Regions from separate parts of the Homo sapiens genome. Here all the other regions are linked to region 4. The links are contacts of gene promoters, found by promoter capture Hi-C in human tissues and cell types (Jung and others, 2019). All regions are on one chromosome and are shown on one strand. Each heading gives the region's core, a stretch centred on a gene start or on the middle of the fragment in contact. The rest is flanking DNA. Distances are from core to core; before and after follow the strand shown.

What was found. Contacts are between HindIII fragments. The study calls those that stand out against the background at their distance.
Region 1: a contact is called between a fragment that was not itself captured here and the fragment with the promoter of SNX32 in region 4, in 1 of the 25 tissues and cell types used here (spleen).
Region 2: the fragment with the promoter of KCNK7 here is called in contact with the fragment with the promoter of SNX32 in region 4 in 11 of the 25 tissues and cell types used here (H1 embryonic stem cells, IMR-90 fibroblasts, bladder and 8 more).
Region 3: a contact is called between the fragment with the promoter of CST6 here and the fragment with the promoter of SNX32 in region 4, in 1 of the 25 tissues and cell types used here (mesenchymal stem cells).
Region 5: a fragment that was not itself captured here is called in contact with the fragment with the promoter of SNX32 in region 4 in 1 of the 25 tissues and cell types used here (spleen).

What each region holds. Positions count from the first base shown.
Region 1 is chr11:66,054,610-66,057,309 of GRCh38, reverse strand. SF3B2 (splicing factor 3b subunit 2) reads right to left here. Exons shown (of 22, transcript NM_006842.3): 4 at 1,995-2,234; 5 at 1,725-1,775; 6 at 355-472; 7 at 1-44. Among named protein-coding and RNA genes, the nearest start is that of SNORD13F, 2.8 kb to the right of the region's middle. The HindIII fragment of the contact is 4,123 bases long and covers 1-2,700 here.
Region 2 is chr11:65,594,544-65,597,243 of GRCh38, reverse strand. KCNK7 (potassium two pore domain channel subfamily K member 7) reads left to right here and starts at 1,444. Exons shown (of 3, transcript NM_033347.2): 1 at 1,444-1,790. The coding sequence starts at 1,472. The HindIII fragment of the contact is 18,543 bases long and covers 1-2,700 here.
Region 3 is chr11:66,010,617-66,013,316 of GRCh38, reverse strand. It overlaps CST6 (cystatin E/M), which reads right to left and starts at 1,309. Exons shown (of 3, transcript NM_001323.4): 1 at 1,033-1,309; 2 at 366-491. The coding sequence starts at 1,272. The HindIII fragment of the contact is 16,997 bases long and covers 1-2,700 here.
Region 4 is chr11:65,832,659-65,835,358 of GRCh38, reverse strand. SNX32 (sorting nexin 32) reads right to left here and starts at 1,396. Exons shown (of 13, transcript NM_152760.3): 1 at 1,258-1,396. The coding sequence starts at 1,293. It overlaps LOC124902693, which reads left to right and starts at 1,560. Exons shown (of 7, transcript XM_047427980.1): 1 at 1,560-2,700. The coding sequence starts at 1,848. RefSeq lists an enhancer at 1,315-1,404 and silencers at 1,329-1,541, 1,715-1,844. The HindIII fragment of the contact is 13,089 bases long and covers 1-2,700 here.
Region 5 is chr11:66,035,669-66,038,368 of GRCh38, reverse strand. No RefSeq gene overlaps it. Among named protein-coding and RNA genes, the nearest start is that of CATSPER1, 11 kb to the right of the region's middle. The HindIII fragment of the contact is 7,933 bases long and covers 1-2,700 here.

The DNA.
Region 1 (2,700 bases), core at 134-2,633, 220 kb before region 4:
CAAAACTGTAGGAGTGGGGCCCACTGGGCCCACTGGAGCAGCTACTAAGAGACGGGAAAAAGAAATCCAATGTCAGAAGAGGCAAAACACTCACGTAAAAAATTACCTCTCTTGCTGAAAGGGTGATGGTAAACCTGCAGGGGAGGAGGGCACGTGGCGTGGCTTTTGGAATGCTGGTAATGTTTTGGATCATGGTCCAGGTGCTGGTTGTACAGGTGTGTTCAGTGTGTAAAAAACCATTAAACTATATATTTACTATATATGCCCTTTTTAAATGTGATAGATACCTTAAAAGTCTTTTTAAAAATGTCTAAATCACCTTCCTTGCCCTTCCCCTCGGTTCCAGGGTCTCACCTCGAGGACCCAGAGGAGTGCGCACACCAATCTGGCCCATGTCTTGTGGGGGCCGAGGGACTGGGGTGCCCATCTTGGCAATCTCCTGCTGTCGTTCCTGCTCCAGTAACACAGCTGCCTACGGGAGGGAAGTGGGAGTAGATACTGCCTGAAAACGCATTTGGCAGGCAGCCCCTGGCAAATGCATTCTTTCAGCCGGGTAATGGGCCCAAGGAGAACAATCACGAACCACTTGGGTGCTGACATCCCCTCCACCCCCACACTTCCAGGCTACTAATCCAAACGGAGGAGCCCTCTCATCACAACGGAAAATCCCTAGAAATAACACCAAGGAAAACCCCAGGAAACTTCTGGTTCCTAGCAGAGAATTTCATATTGAGCCAAACAGTGCCTTCTACTTTTCAGAGAGTTTTCTTCCCCAAAAGATTAAATTATACAGAAGAAACTTTTGAGCTCTTTTCTTATATCCACCCCTCAAGATCCAGCACAATCTGGGCAAAGACAGTACTTTACCCACAGGTCCAGACTTGTGGCTTTTTTTTTTTTTTTTTTTTTTGAGACAGAGTCTGGCTCTGTTGCCTAGGCTGGAGTACAGTGGCATGATCTCAGCTCACTGCAACCTCGGCCTCCCCAGCTCAAGCCATCCTCCCACCTCAGCCTCCCAAGTAGCTGGGACTACAGGCATGCGCCGCCACACCTGGCTAATTTTTGTATTTCTGAGAGACAGGGTTTCATTATGTTGGCCAGGCTGGTCTCGAACTCCTGAGCTCAAGCGATCCACCCACCTCAGCCTCCCAAAGTGCTAGGATTACAGGTGTGAGCCACGGCACCCAGCTCATACTTGTTGCTTTTTAACACTTACTTTTTAATACTCCTGAGTAACCCACTGGGTAATGACTGATGCAATGCACCTCTGGGGCCAAACATCTTATATAACATTCCCAGACTTACAGTCCTATTCTGTCTAAATCCAATACAAATAACTCAATTACCCAGAGTCCTATCTAGAATGATGTCATGTAAGGCGAGCAGAGGTCAGCAGGCTCTTTTTATAATAGGTCAGAAGGTAAATATTTTAGGCTTTATGGGTTGCTGTACAGACTCTGGTACATATTTTTGGTTTGGGTTTTCTTATAACCCTTAAAAAATTTTAAAGTTATTTTTAGCTCATAGGCCATACACATGCAGGCCACAGGTCATAGTTTGTCAATTCCTGAACTTCAAGAAAAATTGAAAGCTTTGGAAGATACTAGAACTTAGTTGAGAACAAAGTAGCCTCCAGGGAAAACTTGAATGGTGCACTCTAAGCACTATAAATGACAGCCAACTGACTGGACCACGAGGTCAAAGGTTAGGGGGAGGGGTATTACCCGCTTCTGCTGCTCCAAGAGCTCATGTTCCTTCAGCGAATGATCTCCCTGCTTAAAAAAGAAAACAAGTTCATACCAGCACCAATACCCAACACGCCAATCTGCCACAACTCTTGCTTCTTGAGATCCTCTTCCAGTCAAGGGCCCATGTTCCAATCTTTAGTCCCGACCTTCCCAGAAGCCTTAGTTCTAGGACCCAGCTTTCTCTAAGGCTCCACTGCCCCTTCAGGGACCTAATGAGTCCAAGGCCAGGGCTGCCACCTGCCCTACCTGCTTGGCACGCTCCTCCTGCTGCATCAGCAATGCCGCCTGCTGCTGAGCCAACTTCAGCCGCTCCTCCTCTGACAGTGCCACTGGCTCACCCACACGGAGAGGAGGCGGGGGCCCCAAATTTGGTGGGTGGGCCATAGGAAAGCCAAGGCCAAGGCCTGGTGGAGGTGGTGGGGGTGGCGGAGGAGGCTGCAGAGGGGGGAGTCCCAAAGGTGGTGGTGGCATGGGAATTCCAGGGAGCTGTGGAGAAAATATGATCATAAAACTAGGAAGCATTTATCTACTCATTCTGCAAATATCTGGGGGATCTACTTTGAGTCAGGAGCTGGAATTCTAAGTCAAATGATACATAGTTACCACTCCATAAGAGAGAATGCTCCACAGCTCTATAAAGATATGAGAATGTTAACTTCTGGCACCAACCAAAGGAAGCTATCCACTCTCTCCAAAAAGATATCCTGAATATAGATTCTGCATACAATTCTAGGAGACTCAAAGACGCCTCTGAGGCCATCTAGGGACTCCTCATCCTACACACAGAGATCAGTAGATGCCAGGTCAGAGCCACTGCTTTAGAGAAAATGAGGCAAATCCTGGATCAGAAGGAACATGGAAATTGAGAGGACTTACATAAACAGGAACCACTGTATCTGGGCAATGCAAACCCCAATGACTACTAAACGCAAGGGGTGTGAAATCAAATCAG
Region 2 (2,700 bases), core at 195-2,694, 240 kb after region 4:
ACGGACAGATCACAAGGTCAGGATTTTGAGACCAGCCTGGCCAATATGGTGAAACCCCGTCTCTACTGAAAAAAATATATATATATACAAAAATTAACCAGGCGTGGTGGCAGGTGCCTGTAGCCCCAGCTACTTGGGAGGCTGAGGCAGGAGAATAGCTTGAACCCGGGCGGCGAAGGTTGAGTGAGCCGAGATTGCACCACTGCACTCCAGCCTGGGCGACAGAGCGAGACTCCATCTCAAAAAAAAGAGTAGTAAGTTCCACCCACCTCCCAGTATGGTGACTTGCCATGGCATCTGGCACCCCTGACAGTTCTCTTCACACTGCCATGGGGGCTCTGGCACTCCCACACCATACCCTAGGGCAGGGTCCCTCCCTCGGCCTCTGTCCATTCTCTTCACACTGCCATGGGGGCTCTGGCACTCCCACACCATACCCTAGGGCTGGGTCCCTTCCTTGGCCTCTGTCCTCAGCCCCTCTGACGTTAGAGGAGTTGGAACCCAGGCTCCCCCTTCCCCTCTCCCAGGTGCCCCATGGCAGCCCAGACTCTGTGTCTGCAGTTCAGGGGCAGGGAGTCAGGAGGGCAGGCACAAAGCGTTCTCAGGAAGAACTGGCAATCGGGCGCAAGGGTATCATCTGCCCGGGTGCTCTGGGCACCCTGGAGTCCTCTCCCCACCTCCCACCCCCACCTGATCCTTCCCAGCTGCCACCATTCCTCTCCCACCACACCACCCAGGCCAAAATCACTCCATCCATGACGCCTACAGTAGCCCAGCGTAGGTCTCCCTGGACCACATTTATCCTCAAGGGCCTGTGTCCTTATCCCCCCTTCACCCCCAACTCTCCCCTGCCACAGCCAGCCCTCTGTTCCTCTCACACCCCAAGCTCATTCCTACCTTCACTGGCCTCTTACTCCCCAGCTGAAATATCACCTCCTTAGCAGAGCTTTCCCAGTGAGATAACCCCCCCGCTCCCCGCAGAGCTCTCCCATCACCCAGGGTGTTTCCTTCATGGAACTCATGACAATGTGAGGTTGCCATGTTTCTTTGCTAAGAGGTTTCTTGTGTAAACACCAGGAAGGAAAGGACCTGTGCCTGTCCTCTTCCCTAAGCACTTGAATGAATGAATGAATGAATGAATGTGGTATGGGTGCCTGAGTGAGCAGGACCTTGAATAAGTGTGAGGTCCTCTCTAGGCTTCAGCTTCCTCCGCCTCCTCCCCTCACCGCAGCCGCCTTCCTCCACCCATCCCCACCATCCCAGCTGCTGTGAAATGGGCAAATGTCTTGCCTCCAGGACCTGGGAAGGGTGATGCAGCTCACCTCCCTCCTGTTCACACCCCAGCCACCCCAGCCATCCCAGCCGGGTCCCAGCCACCCACACAGCACCTCCTCCTGGCCCCGCCCTGCCCAGCCCCTCCCAGGTGCCTGAGGTGGAGCCGCCAGTTCCCACAGCACCCCAGCGGCCTGCCATGGGGGGTCTAAGGCCCTGGTCCCGATACGGGCTCCTGGTTGTGGCCCACTTGCTGGCCCTGGGGCTTGGGGCTGTGGTGTTCCAGGCCCTGGAGGGGCCTCCTGCATGCAGGCTTCAGGCTGAGCTCAGGGCAGAGCTGGCAGCCTTCCAGGCAGAGCATAGGGCCTGCCTGCCACCCGGAGCTCTGGAAGAGCTGCTGGGCACTGCCCTGGCCACCCAGGCCCATGGGGTCTCCACCCTGGGCAACAGCTCAGAGGGCAGGACCTGGGACCTTCCCTCAGCCCTGCTCTTCGCTGCCAGCATCCTCACCACCACAGGTAAGAGAGCCAGGCAGCCAAGTCGGGGGGTGCGGCTCCAAGAGGCCATGGCTCCCTGGGGGCTTTGGGGTTCATGCAGCCCTTCCTTCAGCCCCAAAGAGCCAGATGGAGCCCAGGCCCTGTGAGGCCTGACATCACAGCTGGGGCTCCCCACCAACACACCCCAACTGGTGCCTCCACTTCAACTGCCAGGAAGGGTGTGGCCTCCCCAGTCCCACCCCAGGCACCCTTTGAGACCCAGGAGAGCTGCCCAGATGCCACAGCCTGTGGCCAGATAGGGGATACAATACAGTGGGATGGATTCTTGGATGGAAGCAAATAGAATGAACCTGGGAAGGACAGATCAGGACCATGGCCTCGGGTGGGGGAGTGAGGGAAGATAGGGGAGGAAGTCGGCATGAGATGCTTGTGGATCAGGAGGGCACAGACAGGGATGAGGGAGTCCTGCAGAGAAATCGCGTGGGCACAGGCCCAGGGAAAAGCAGCAATGAGACCCACAGCCCTGGGTTTTCGTATTTTTTGCCCCACAAAGTGTCTCAGTATTTTTTGAATTGGAATTTGTATTTCCAACTTTTTTTTTTTTTGAAACGGTGTCTGACCCTGTCACCCAGGCTGGGGTGCGGTGGTGCGATCTTGGCTCACTGCAACCTCCACCTCCCGGGTTCTAGCAATTCTCCTGCCTCAGCCTCCTGAGTAGCTGGGACTACAGGCATGCACCACCATGCCCGGCTAATTTTTGTGTTTTTAGTAGAGACGGGGTTTTGCCATGTTGGCCAGGCTGTTCTCAAACTCCTGACCTCAAGTGATCCACCTGCCTCAGCCTCCCAAAGTGTTGGGATTACAGGTGTGAGCCACTGTGCCCAGCTCATATTTCCAACTTCTTTTGGAAAATCAGGAAACCCACTCACAC
Region 3 (2,700 bases), core at 60-2,559, 180 kb before region 4:
CTGTGGAGGGAATATGGGGGAGAAGGAGGGGTGAGCCCAGCCTCGACCTGTCTCCTCCCAACAGCCAGCCCTCTGCCTGCCAGGCTGCTCCAGGCCAAGAGAGGGACAATCACTGACCCAACGGATGTCAAGCCGCATGTCTGGGGCTAGACTCCAGATCTTGGTAGCCAACTTCCCCATTCCCGAGGGAAGCCCCAGCTTCCTTTCTGCACCCCATCTTGGCCCAGAGGCTGACTCATCCAGAAGGACGACAGGTTCAGCCAGACATCTAGACATCTACGTGTCCAGCCAAACCAGTTCAGGATGGACAACCTGAGTGCCTGAGGCTCTGGGGAGGGCTGGGGCTGGAGGAGCCCAGCTGTTACCTCCTGCTGCGCCCCTGCTGCCAGGGGGCAAGTGGTGAGGTCGACGTGGTCTCCAGTGACCCTGGTCTTGCGGCAGTCTGTGCTCCCCATCTCCATCGTCAGGAAGTACTTGATGCCGGCCACCAGCTGGGGGCATAGGGTAGGGGCAGGTCAGGGGTCTTGACCCTTGATCCTCACTTCTCACCTCTTGATATATTCTCCTGTTGCCCCCAGGCACTCAGGTGGGGAGAGAGGGAGAGGGGATGATTCAGACGGGGTGGGGGGGGGTGGGGGGGGGTGGGGGGGGGAGTTCTGGTGGGGATGGAGGGTGGAGAGGCCTGGAGGCTGAGCCCCACCAGCAGCCTTGGCAGACATCAGACATGCCCCATCTAGGGAGCTGCCCACTGTCCCCACCTGCCTTCCCTCCTCCCCGATCCACCCCATCAGGGCAGAGACTAGGACCAGGCAAGCCAGGAAGGCAGGTAGTGCAATACAGGGTTTAATTATGTCTTTCCTTGAAATTTAGATGGTTGTCCATCGTGGAGTTTTAGCATTAATTCGATTTTTAAAATATTGCATGAAAATATCCCGATTGCGCTTTTAGGCCCCCTTCATGCACGCTGGGGCAGCGCCTGTGGCCTCCCCCATCTGGGCCGGGTGTCCCCTCCCAGCACCCCGCCCGCCGCACCTGGCTCTGCGCCTTGATGATGTGCGTGTCTCGGAAGTAGTAGATGCTGTTGCTGCCCATGTTGTAGCTGGCCACGGCCGCCTGCGCCGCCTTCTGCACCTGCGGGTCGTCGGGCGACAGGTCCCGGAGTTCTCCGACCATGCGCTCCTGCGGCCGGGCCCGGGCGTCGCGTGGCAGCGCCAGGAGGCAGAATGCGACCAGGGCCAGGCCCAGCGCCAGCGGGAGGTTCGAACGCGCCATGGCCGTCAGTGCCGTCGGAGCCCTCAGAGCCGTGAGTGCCGAGCTTGCGGCCGCGCAGCTTTTACCCGCTGGGCCGCCCCGCCCGACGCCCGCGATGCGCCCCCGCGGCCTGGAGCTGGGGCGGGGCTCGAAGTTGCCGGGGTCCTGCGAGGTTCAGGGAGCCCAGGAGGCCGAGGGGGCGGCGCGCACCCGCGTGCCAAGACGCTTCCCTGCCCTCCAGGACACACCTGGCCCGGGGAGGGAGAGGACAGCGACAGTCCCCAGCAACAAGTGCCAGTACAGGGACGGTTCACGGGAGGGCTGTCCAGAATGAACTACCAACCGCAGCTCTTCGTGGGCTCTTACTGTTGCCACCATTTCCTAGCTGTGTAACCTCGGAGAAGTCACTTAACCACTCGCTGCCTCAGTTTCCTCTTCTGTACAATGGGTGTTGTGAGGATTCAGTGAGCTGAAACAGGTAAAGTTCTTAGAAGAGGTCTGGTGCTGGATAAACAGCAGGTGAGTAGGACACATTACTGCTCAGCGCTGCCTGACAACCTTCCTGGAGCGCGAGTGACTAATGTTTCTACCTGGCCAGGCACCTAGGCATGCTTGTAATTCCAGCACTTTGAGAGGCCAAGGTGGGAGGACCACTTGAGCCAAGGAGTTCAAGTCAGTGAATCGTGATCTCACCACTGCAGCATTCCAGCCTGGGCGACAGAGCTAGACGCTGACTCAAAAAAAAAAAAAAAAAAAAAAAAAAAAAAGAAGGCCGGGCATGAGGGCTCACACTTGTAATCCCAGCACTTTGGGAGGCCGAGGCAGGCAGATCACTTGAGGTCAGGAGTTCAAGACCAGCCTGGCCAACATGGTGAAACCCCGTCTCTACCAAAAATACAAAAATTAGCCAGGCGTGGTGGCACACACCTGAATTCCCAGCTACTCAGAAGGCTGAGGCAGGGGAATTGCTTGAACCTGGGAGGCAGAGGTTGCAGTGAGCCAAAATGGCACCACTGCGCTCTAGCCTGGGTGACAGAGAGAGACTCTGTCTCACAAAAAAAAAAAAGAAAAAAGAAAAAAAATAGTTTCCACTTTACAGAGAAGGGAAAATGGATTTGCCCAAAGACACCGGCAGGAAATAAATGGTGACACTGGCTTGTGTGTGCTGACAGTCTAAGTCAAATCTGTGGTCTTAAACCAGACTGAGCCCACAGGACACAAACTGCCCAGAAGGAGGGGGTGTCAGTCATGTCAGCTCTGCCATCTTACTGACGGCATGGCTTTGGGCAAGTCCCTCAACCTCCCACACAGAGCCTCCGTGCCCTCGTCTGAAAGACACCTTATCTCCTAAGTTTGTTCTGATATTGATGTTTCGAATCTGGCTGTCCCGTGGATACAGTGAGCATGTGCTGGAGGTACCAGCAAACAAGGCCCATGACTGTGTTTTTA
Region 4 (2,700 bases), core at 147-2,646:
TCCCCGCCCTCACCTCCCACCCCCTACCCACCTACCCCCATCAAGACAGCCTGAGTTGGTCTTGGGGAGGGTAAGAGTGACAGTGACGGGTCCCTTTCCATCTGTAAGGACAAAGGCAAAACCCTGCCTCCCTTGGCATCCTCATCAGTCCGCACACAGGTGCCACAGAGGCTCCCCACTCCCTTGCTCAAGTCTCCTTTCTCTCACTTGCGCAGACACACACATACACACAGAGACACATGGGCACATACACACACACAGACACACGAGACAAACACAGACACACGCACACACAGACACACATAGAAACACACACAGATACACAGACACACACAAACACACAGGCACAGAGAAACACACACACAGACACACACAACGACATACACAGATCATACACAGGCACACAGACACACACAGATGCACACACAGACACACTGACATAGACACACACAGATATACAAAGACACACGGATACAGACACACACAGACACATGCAAACACACACACAGACCCAGAAATACACAGACACACACACACAGACACACGCAGACCATACACACACACAGAGACACACACACACAGACATAAAGATGCACGCAGACCATACATAGACACAGAGACAGACACACACTCAGACACAAAGAGACACAGACCTGCGCAGACACACACAGGCACATGCGTGCACACACAGATACACACAGAGACACACACAGATGCATACATGCACACATGCAGACCATACACACAGACAGACACAGACACAAAGACACACGCAGACCATACACAGACACAGACACACAGACACACACACACAGACATGCACAGACACACACAGAGACAGACACAGACATGCACGCACAAACACCCACATGGACGCATACGTGCACACACACAGACACACACAGGCCATACACACACACACAGAGACACGGAGACACACAGACACACACACAGATACACAGAGACACACAAAGACACAGACACACACTGAGACACACACAGACACACAGACACACAGAGACACAAATACAGACATACACAGATACACACACACACAGACATATGCAGGCACATCGACATACACACAGACACACAGAGAAACAGACACATGCAGACTATACACACACAGACACACACAGAAACACACAGAGGCAGACCACACACACACAGACACACACACACCACCGCATGATTGGGCATCACGGGCTTTCATGGAGTGAGGGGAGGCTGGGGTGGGGGTCTTCATCCTTTCTCTACCTTGCCCTCCTTCCCAACCTCCGCATACGTCTCCATCGCTCTCCTGGGCTTCAGCGTCCGGCCACTGCCCGCGTGCTCCCGCAGGTCGTCCCCGTAACTCGCCCGAGGAACTGACCGAGTGAGGATGCTCTCAGCTGACGGGGACGCTCTCCCCCGCCCGGCCAAGGAGTCGCCTGGAGTCGGGGGCGGTTCCCACCGCGTTTCCCTCAGCCACGCCTTTCGATTGGGTAGCGGGGCACCGCGCGTGACGCCATTGGCTGCATTGTCTGTCGTTCCTGTCCCAGGCCCCAGCTTTTAAGGGACACGCGGCACGGAGAGTGGGCCGGTGATAGGCGACAGTGTGGGAGCTGGGGTCAGAGTTCATAGGGTCGCAGAGGCCGCGTGCCGCGTCTCCCTCCAGTCCCCGGGGGACTGACCCCCACAACAACCCCGTGCCGCCGTTCCGGGCCCCTCCTTCCAACGGCCACGTGCGGCCTGCGCGTGCGCACTCGCCCAGTTTGGCGCCCACCAGGCAGTGGGGAAGGGGAAGGGGAAGGGGAAGAGGGTGAGGGTGGCAGGGTGGGGACAGGGAATGGGAAGCAGTGGTGGGGATGTGGGTGGTGGACCAGGGGCGAGGGCAGGGGACAATGTCTGTGGAGAAGGGGGGTCTGTTTAGGTTTCCGCTCTTGGACGGGAGGGAGCGGCGGGGTAAGCAGCCTAGGAGGACTAGGGAGCTCCACAAGTCCCGCGGCCAGGGCGCCCCAAGCGAGGCCGGGGTCCGCGAACGGTCGCCACTGGAGCGGGGCTGCAAGGGGGTGCCGATGCTGCGAGAGAAAACCTGGGGACCTTGGAACGGGCTCATGGTAATTGGGAAGAGAGTGGAGCTCCTGACTAGAAACACTCGAAAGCCGAAGCTGGAGTCTGAGTACTGGAGACTGGAAGATGTGGAAAAGACGGTCTTGAAAGGGAAGTCAGGCCCGAGTCAGGAAAGGATGGATGTGAAGCTGCTATACCGTGGAGCAAGTGCATCACAAGCTTCAGCAGATTTGGGGAAAGACAGCCCAAGGGGTATTTGGGGAAAGCAAGAGGTCAAACACGAAATAAAGGCTAAATCTAAGAGTGCAGGGATGACAGCAGGGCCTATGAAGGGGTCTGGGTTTGAAGAGAGGTTGAGGTCTGCTGGGGAGAAGGTAGGGACCAGTGGAGAGGACTTGAGATCCAATGGATATAAACTGGGACAGGATGAGAAGGGGTTGAGGTCTAGTGTAGACAAGATGAGATCAAGTGTAGAGAAGCTGAGGTCTACTAGTGAGAAGCTGGTGTGCAGGGGAGAGAAGCAGGGGTCCAGTGGAGTGAAGCTGAGGTCCAGTGGCAGAAAGCTGAGATCAAGTGGAGAGAATTTGAGATCAAGTAGAGAGAAGCTGAGATGGAGTGGAGAGAAGCTGGGAACTAGTGGAGAGAAGC
Region 5 (2,700 bases), core at 146-2,645, 200 kb before region 4:
AAGCTGCATGGCCAGGTGCAGTGGCTCATGCCTGTAATCCCAGCACTTTGGGAGGCCAAGTGGGGGTGGATCACTTGAAATCAGGAATTTGAGACCAGCCTGGCCAACATGGTGAAACCCCATCTCTACTAAAATACAAAATTAGCTGGGTGTGGTTGTGCATGCCTGTAATCCCAGCTACTCAGGAGGCTAAGGCAGGAGAATGCCTTGAACCCAGGAAGCAGAGGTTGCAGACAGCCGAGATTGTGCCACTGCACTCCAGCCTGGGTGACAGAGAGAGACTCCATCCAAAAATAAAAGCTGCAAATGCCACTGAGAGAAGGCACGTTAATAAGAACAATGCTACTAACTTTTACTGAGCACTTACTCTATTAGGCTGTTTTTGCATTGCTATGAAGAAATACGTGAGTCTGGGTAATTAAAGAAAACAGGTTTGATTGGGGCTGGGCACAGTGGCTCATGCCTGTAATCCCAGCACTTTGGGAGGCTGAGGCGGGTGGATCACGAGGTCAGGAGATCAAGACCATCCTGGCTAACACAGTGAAACCCCGTCTCTATTAAAAATACAAAAAAATTAGCCAGGCATGGTGGCAGGCACCTGTAGTCCCAGCTACTCGGGAGGCTGAGGCAGGAGAATGCCGTGAACCCAGGAGGTGGAGCTTGCAGTGAGCTGAGATCAGCCACTGCACTCCAGCCTGGGCTACAAAGTGGAAAAGAAAAAGAAAAGAAAAGAAAATAGTTTTGATTGGCTCCCAGTTCTGCAGGCTGTACAGGCATGGTGCTGACATCTGCTCGGCTTCTGAGGAGGCCTCAGTAAGCTTACAATTGTGTGAAAGGTGAAGTGGAAGCAAGCATATCACATGCCAGAAGCAGGAACAAGGTCAATGCCCTCTGAGGGGAGGTGCCACACACTTTCAAACAACCAGATCACTGTGAACTCAGAGCAAGAACTCGCCGATCACCAAGGGGATGGCACCAAGCCATTAATGAGGGATCTACCCCATGATCCAAACATCTCCCACCAGGCCCCACCTCCAGCACTGGAGATCACATTTCAACATGAGATCTGGGCGGGTGGGGGGGACACACAGCCAAACCATATCACTTACTATATGCTAGGTCAGTGGTCCCCAATGTTTTTGGCACCAGGGACTGGCTTTGTGGAAGAGAATTTGTCCGTGGTGTGAGGGGTTAAGGGGGATGGTTTTGGGATGAAACTGTTCCACCTCAGATCATCAGGCATTAGATTTTCATAAGGAGTGCACAACCTAAATCCCCCGCACATGCAGTTCACAATAGGGGGTTCACACTCCTAAGAGAATCTAATGGTGATCTGACAGGAGGCAGAGCTCAGGTGGTAACGTCCATGGCCTGGGGGTTGGGGACCCCTGTGCTAGGTGCTCTTCTCTACACTTTATGTATTTTAACTTACTCGATTTTTTTTTTTTTTTTGAGATGGAGTTGCGCTCTATCGCCCAGGTTGGAGTACAGTGGCATGATCTCGGCTCACTGCAACTTCTGCCGCTCAGGTTCAAGTGATTCTCCTGCCTGAGCCTCCCGAATAGCTGGGATTACAGGCACCCACCACCACACCTGGCTAATTTTTGCATTTTTAATGGACACAGGGTTTCACCATATTGGCCAGGCTGGTCTCAAACTCCTGGCCTCAAGCGATCCACCTGCCTTGGACCCTCAAAGTGCTGGGATTACAGGCATGAGCCACCAGGCCCAGCCAACTTACTTGATTTTTACAACACCCTAAGAGGTAGCTGTTACTCTTCTCTCCCTCTTTTATTTATTTTAGAGACAGGGTCTCACTTGTCACACAAGTCTCAGCTACTCGGAGGGGGCAGTGGTGCAATCGTGACTCACTGCAGCCGTAAACTCCCAGGCTCAAGCAATCCTCCCTCAGACTCCTGAGTAGCTGGGATTATAGGCAGGTACCACTAAACACCCAGCTATATCCCCTCTTGTAGAAGAGGAAACTGAGATACAAAAAGTTGAAGTGCCCAGGCTCATACAGCCGGGAGAAGCTGAGCTAGGACAGAAACCAGACTGCTCAGGCTCCAAAGCCCAGGTCCTCCCACCATAATACATTACCCGACCCCGTGAAACACCCTCCCAGCCATCCCTGCAGGCTCCTTATTAAACAGCCTCATTATAAAAGCCTCCTGGGAGCAGGTTTGAGTGGGAGGGAGAGGCAGAGAGCCCAAGTTCTTTGGGAGCCCAAGGTGAGGTGAGGCAAAGAGAGAGAAGCTGGTGCTCTGCCAACACAACCGGGCAGCTTCCCAGAATGGGCCAGAGGCGTGCAGAGGGGCTGTGGGGCAGAGGTGCCTGAAGAAAGGGGCTAGACAGTCAGTCCCAGCCAGAGAAGGGCATGGAGAAGAGGAAGGGGAGCCCCTCTCTCAACCTCATAGATTCTAGATTAGCTCCTCTGGCCCAGCAGGGCTACAGAAATCTGAGGATCCCTGCCAGCCAATCCTCTTCTCCCCAGCAAGAGTTTCCCTGGTGCCCTCCAGTGGGCAAAGGACAGGACAGGATCACCCTCTGCCACCCCCATCCTCCACCTTCATCCCAATCTCATGGGATTGCTACAACGCAACAGAGGGCGAAGGAGTCAGGCTCTCATACTCCATTACAAATGGGAAGACTCAGCCCGGGCATGGTGGCTCACGCCTGTAATCCCAGAACTTTGGGAGG